2 separate regions of the Homo sapiens genome follow, and region 2 is linked to region 1. Evidence: promoter capture Hi-C in human tissues and cell types (Jung and others, 2019). All regions are on one chromosome and are shown on one strand. Each heading gives the region's core, a stretch centred on a gene start or on the middle of the fragment in contact. The rest is flanking DNA. Distances are from core to core; before and after follow the strand shown. Region 1 holds the start of HCAR1 (hydroxycarboxylic acid receptor 1). Region 2 has its middle 13 kb from the start of MIR9902-1.

The links. Contacts are between HindIII fragments. The study calls those that stand out against the background at their distance.
Region 2: a fragment that was not itself captured here is called in contact with the fragment with the promoter of HCAR1 in region 1 in 2 of the 25 tissues and cell types used here (bladder and liver).

Annotation. Positions count from the first base shown.
Region 1 is chr12:122,729,270-122,732,300 of GRCh38, forward strand. It overlaps HCAR1 (hydroxycarboxylic acid receptor 1), which reads right to left and starts at 1,575. Exons shown (of 1, transcript NM_032554.4): 1 at 1-1,575. The coding sequence starts at 1,070. The coding sequence ends at 30. RefSeq lists an enhancer at 337-1,004. The HindIII fragment of the contact is 12,382 bases long and covers 1-3,031 here.
Region 2 is chr12:122,681,492-122,684,288 of GRCh38, forward strand. No RefSeq gene overlaps it. Among named protein-coding and RNA genes, the nearest start is that of MIR9902-1, 13 kb to the right of the region's middle. The HindIII fragment of the contact is 5,388 bases long and covers 1-2,797 here.

The sequences.
Region 1 (3,031 bases), core at 325-2,824:
ATCTTCCTCAGTGTTGTTGGTCTGCTTGTTCAGTGCCACTCAACAATGTGGGGATCCCATTGCCCATCAGACTGGCTTTGGAAACTATTTGCCACACTGATGCAACTCCTGCGACCGAGGTTCGAAATTGGCATCTCTTCCGGCCTTTGTGTTTTTGAGTGTCCTGGCTGCTTGGGTTTCAGACTGCAGATTTTGAGCTTGTTGTAGAATTTGGGAAAGGAGGGGCTTGAAAAATAATACACCAGGGGATCCAGCATGCTGTTCATGTAGGTGAAGCTGAGGGTTATGTGCAGGGCCCCATGGACAGAGGGATCGCAGGCACTCGAGGGCACCGTCCAGAGGAAATAGAGTCTAGCAGACACGCTGGGCAGGTAGCATGTGATGAACACAATTGCCACCACCATGATGAACCGGGTCGCCTTCTTCATCCGAGCCTGTCTGGCCAGCTGCTGCCTCCGCCTCAGGCTCCAAACAATCTTGAAGGAGCAAAATAAGATGATGCCGAGGGGCATAAAGAACTCCAGCTGGAACATGATGTCATGCCAGCCATTGGCCGACTCCATGATGAAGCTCTCACAGGAGACGGCCGTCTCTTGCACGCAGAGATGGTTCTCCAGCAAAAGATACACTGTTCCCAGGATGACCAGGGCCCACAGGGTGCAGACGATGCCAGCCGCCACCCGGGTGGAGATAGTGTTCACCGCGTGGTGGGGGTGGACCACTTTGAAATACCTGTCCGCAGCCACCACCGTAAGGAACACGATGCTCCCGGCCCTGTTCATGGCCAACGTGAAGAGCCCCACTCGGCAGGGAATGTCCCCAAAAGCCCAGTGTCTACGTCTGAGGTAATAGTCTGTCCGAAAAGGCAGGCAGATCATAAGGAGGAAATCAGCCACGGCCAAATTGAAAAGGTAAACAGTGCTGGGCTTCCAGGTCTTCATGTGGAAGCAGAAACCACACAGGGCGACCCCATTGCCTAGTGCGCCCAGCACAAAGGCCACAATGAGCAGCGGCGGCATCACCTGGGAGATGGTGTCCCCCTCGATGCGGCAGCACGACCCGTTGTACATGGCGGGGACAGAGCAAGTGTCCGGGTGCAGAGCAGCCCAGGGAGTCCCCACAATGGCACAGATGCTTATCTGAGCGTTAGCACTCACCCAGCTGCTGCGTGTCTGACTTCATCACCCAGGATGCGGGTCCTGTGTGTGTGGGTTGGATGCTGCCACAGCAGCGAGAAGAGAAACTTCAGCCAGGAAATGAGAGACCCAGGGAGGTCCTTTCTCTGGAGCCCGTCTCACAAGCCGCCTGCCTCTGGGAGAGGCCAAGCCTGGAGCCGGATGAAGCTTGGAAATGCATGCAATTTTGCAAAAGTGGTCATTTCTGAGAGGCGGTAGGGTGGGGGGGTCCGATGAGATTGATGCCGTAGAGGAGCGATTGGGTCCAGCGCCAGAGTAATTTTCATTTTCAGCTTCGCTGTTCCTCCTCGGACTCCGTGCTGGAGAGCACACAAAGCTGCCCAGAAGGCAAGAAGAAAGCTTGTTTGTCCTCCCTCCTGGTGGAGAAATCCAAACATTTCCTGGAGTGGTTCTGGGCTCCTGCCTTTGCTTTCCTCCCGTAACCTTTGCCTGACTGCCTTGTCCTCTCCCTCATCCCACGGGGCACTCCCATGCGGTGCCAGAGAGGGGAGGCTTTGCTCTGCAGCTCCTCCGGGCCATTTCCTGTGCCGAAAAATACCGCGCTCAAAAATTGGAGGAGTCTGCGGAGAGAAAAGTTCTAATCACGATACTTGATGGATGTTAGAAAAATTCTTTGACGGGAGTCACCTTTCCCCCGCTCTATTCCCACCTCCCTGCCCTTTACATCCTTCCGTGAACCAAAGTGGCCAGTTGCACAACCACCAAGACCATGAAATAGATCTGAAGCCCACTTCTCATATGTCTGTCTCCACAAAACGGCCTCTTTGGGAGCCGGTTTCCCCCTCTGCTGGGAAGCAGAGCCTAGAACTTTTACAAAGATTTGGCCCTGAGTTTCCATTGGCTGTTGAATGAGCCAAACACCATGAGATGTACGTTTTTAATTTCAATTATGTGCTGAGCCCATCAATTAAAACTGCCCCCTGGGGGCGGAAGAGGATTGGAGGAGTTGATTAAGGAGTCCATCTCTAAAGCAATCATGAGTAACATTAGACTGCACAAAAAATTGGAGTCTTTGCTAAAATTTCCTGTCCTTTGGCTTTAAGGATTATTAATCTGCCCTGTGCCTTTCAGCTTCCAGTTTAGAAAATGGGGTGGAGGCCGGGCGCGGTGGCTCACGCTTGTAATCCAAGCACTTTGGTAGGCCCAGGCGGGCGGATCACCAGGTCAGGAGATGGAGACCATCCTGGCTAACACGGTAAAACCCCGTCTCTACTAAAAATACAAAAAAATGAGCCAGGCGTGGTGGCGGGCGCCTGTAGTCCCAGCTACTCGGGAGGCTGAGGCAGGAGAATGGCGTGAACCCGGGAGGCAGAGCTTGCAGGGAGCCAAGATTGCGCCACTGCACTCCAGTCTGGGTGACAGAACCAGACTCCGTCTAAAACAAACAAACAAACAAACAAACAAAACAACAAGAAAAAGAAAAAGAAAAAAGAAAGAAAGAAGAAAATGGGGTGGAGGCCAGTCGCGGTGGCTCACATCTATAATCCCAGCACTTTGGGAGGCCGAGGCAGGTGGATGACTTGAGGTCAGGAGTACAAGACCAGCCTTGCCAACATGGTGAAACCCCATCTCTACTAAAAATATACAAAAATCAGTCAGGTGTTGTGGCATGTGTCTGTAATCCCAGTTACTCAGGAGGCTGAGGCAGGAGAATCACTTGAACCCGGGAGGTGGAGGTTGCAGTGAGCCGAGATCGTGCCAATGAACTCCAGCCTGGGTGACAGAAAGAAACTCTGTCTCAAAAAAAAAAAATGGGGCGGAAAAGAGGGGGTGCATTGAAAGAATGTGTCTGTCTTCTAGATGCACACTGAAGCTAAATTCTTCCCACTGGATGC
Region 2 (2,797 bases), core at 146-2,645, 48 kb before region 1:
CCCAGAGAGCTCCCTTCTCCCTTGTGCTGTGTGGGGACACAGAGAGGAAATCTATGCATCAGGTGGCAGGTCCTCACCATCCTCCTCGGACGCTGAATCTGCTGCCGCCTTGATCTTGGACTTCCAGCCTCCACAACCATGGGAAATGAACTGTTGTTTGTAAGCCATGCAGCCCATGGTACCGTGTCATGGCAGCCCTGGTGGACTAAGACAATGTCCTCGGCTGAATTGTGATTGAGAGCTCAATGGTACAGTCCAGGGGGAGCTTTGTGGTGTTTTGGTTTCTCAAAGAACCACTTGGATCGCTAGGACTCCGGTCTGCATTTGAAGCCATCTCCTGCCCAAGGACACCTGGTCACCATGGCCAGCATGCAGCCAGACACCAGGGACCTCCCTGTGGCCACCAGAATTGGTGGATCCATCACTCATGGGGTTTCTCAGGCTTTGCTTTCGCAATTAGTTGGTTCTCCTCAATTGCATTCTGTTTCCCTCTGTTGGTAATAGAGGACTGACCACAGGCAGTGGTGATGACAGGGGAAGTCTTGGCTTAGCTCTTAGTGAGAGAGACATGCAGGGCATTGGCAGAAGTTCGAATTGGTGAGCCCAGCCTGTCCCTCTCAGACGCCTCCAGGCGTGTGTCTAAGAGAAAGTCTCCTGCATGTAAGAAAGTATTCTACAGGCAAACATGACCTTTTGTTTTGTTTTGTTTTGTTTTGTTTTGTTTTGTTTTGTTTTGTTTTTCATTTTGAGACAGAGTCTCACTCTGTCACCCAGGCTGGAGTGCAGTGGTGCAATCTTGGCTCACTGCAACCTCTGCCTCCTGGGTTCAAGCAATTCTTGTGCTCAGCTTCCTACGTGGCTGGGATTACAGGCGTGCACCACCACTCCTGGCTAATTTTTGTATTTTTAGTAGAGACAGAGTTTCGCCATGTTGGCCAGGCTGGTCTTGAAATCCTGACCTCAAGCGATCCACCTGCCTCAGTCTCCCAAAGTGCTGGGATTACAGGCGTGAGCCACCATGCCCAGCCCCAATTTTGCTTAAGGAGGAATTTTATAGTAGGTGAATTAATATCTCAATGGAAAAAAAATACCAGAAGTTTCAAGAGCTGAAATAGTCATAGGCCTCTCTCACTTTCTTTGGGTTCTCAGAACCCACCCAAAGAGTGGTCAAGCTAAAATTTCAACCCAGAGACATCTGATTCCAAAGGCCATTTTTCTTCACCTCTGCCAGCCAGAGAGTGAATGGTCATGTAGCCTGGGAGTGAAAGCCATGCTGGGGGGTTTGAACTTTTTGTTGTCGTTGATGATTGAAGGGTTTTGAGGCAGAAAAGAAACATAATTCAGTTTTTGTTTTAGAAAGATGGAGCTGGGCATGGTAGCTCATGCCTGTAATCCCAGAACTTTGGGAGCCCAGGACAGGGAGGATCACTTGAAGCCAGGAGCATGAGACCAGCCTGGGCAATACCGGGAGATCCCATCTCTTAGAAAAAATAAAAAAAGCAAAGAAAGATAATTCTTAGGAGCTTTATGTGAATATTCTTTATTAGACATAATAACAGATAATATTGAGGAGAGTTTTTTTCTGGGTTGGCTACAATAATTTTTGCAGTTTTGTTTAAAAATTTTTTGATACAGGCTGGGCACAGTGGCTCACACCTGTAATCCCAGCACTTTGGGAAGCCGAGGCAGGTGGATCACTTGAGGTCAGGAGTTTGAGACCAGTGCCTGTAATCCCAGCTACTCGGGAGGCTGAAGCAGGAGAATCACTTGAACCTAGGAGGCGGAGGTTGCAGTGAGCCGGGATCATGCCACTGCACTCCAGCCTGGGTGACAAAGCAAGACTCCGTCTAAAAAAAATGTTTTTTGGCTGGGCGCGGTGGCTCACGCCTGTAATCCCAGCACTTTGGGAGGCCGAGGCGAGCAGATCACGAGATCAAGAGATCAAGACCATCCTGGCTAACGTGATGAAACCCCAGGTATCTCTACTAAAAACACAAAAATTATGGCCGGGTGCAGTGTCTCACGCCTGTAATCCCAGGATTTTGGGAGGCCGAGGTGGGCAGATTACCTGAGGTCAGGAGTTCGAGACCAGCCTGACCAACATGGATAAACCCGATTTCTACTAAAAATACAAAATTAGCTGGGTGTGGTGGCGCATACCTGTAATCCCAGCTACTCGGGAGGCTGAGGCAGGAGAATCGCTTGAACCTGGGATGCAGTGAGCCAACCAAGATGGCACCACTGCACTCCAGGCTGGTGACAGAGCGAGACTCTGTCTCAAAAGAAAAAAAAAATTTTTTTTGATACAGCTCACGAACAGCAAGGCAAAATAAAAAATAATTTTTAAAAAAAGTTCAACTTTTTTTTGCAGGGGAGATAGGGTCTCACTCTGTCTCCCAGGCCGGAGTGCAGTGGTGCAATCATAGCTCACTGTATCCTTGACCTCCTGGGCTCAAGCAATCCTCCCACCTCAGTCTCTCAAAGTGTCGAGATTACAGGCGTGAGCCTGGCCTGAAATCTTGACTAAAATATCAGTGTTCAGCCTCTATGGGAACCCTAGAGACCAGTGCGATTTTTTTTTTTTATCTCATTCACTTTTTAAATTTTTTAATTATTTTATTTCATTTCATTTCATTGAGACAGGGTCTCACTGTCACCCAGGCTGGAGTGCAATCATAGCTAACTGCAGCCTTGACCTACCTCCCCACCATCACCTCAAGCGATCCTCCCATCTCAACCCCTCAAGTAGTTGGGACCACAGATGTGCACCACTATGCCCAGCTAATTTTGTTTTATT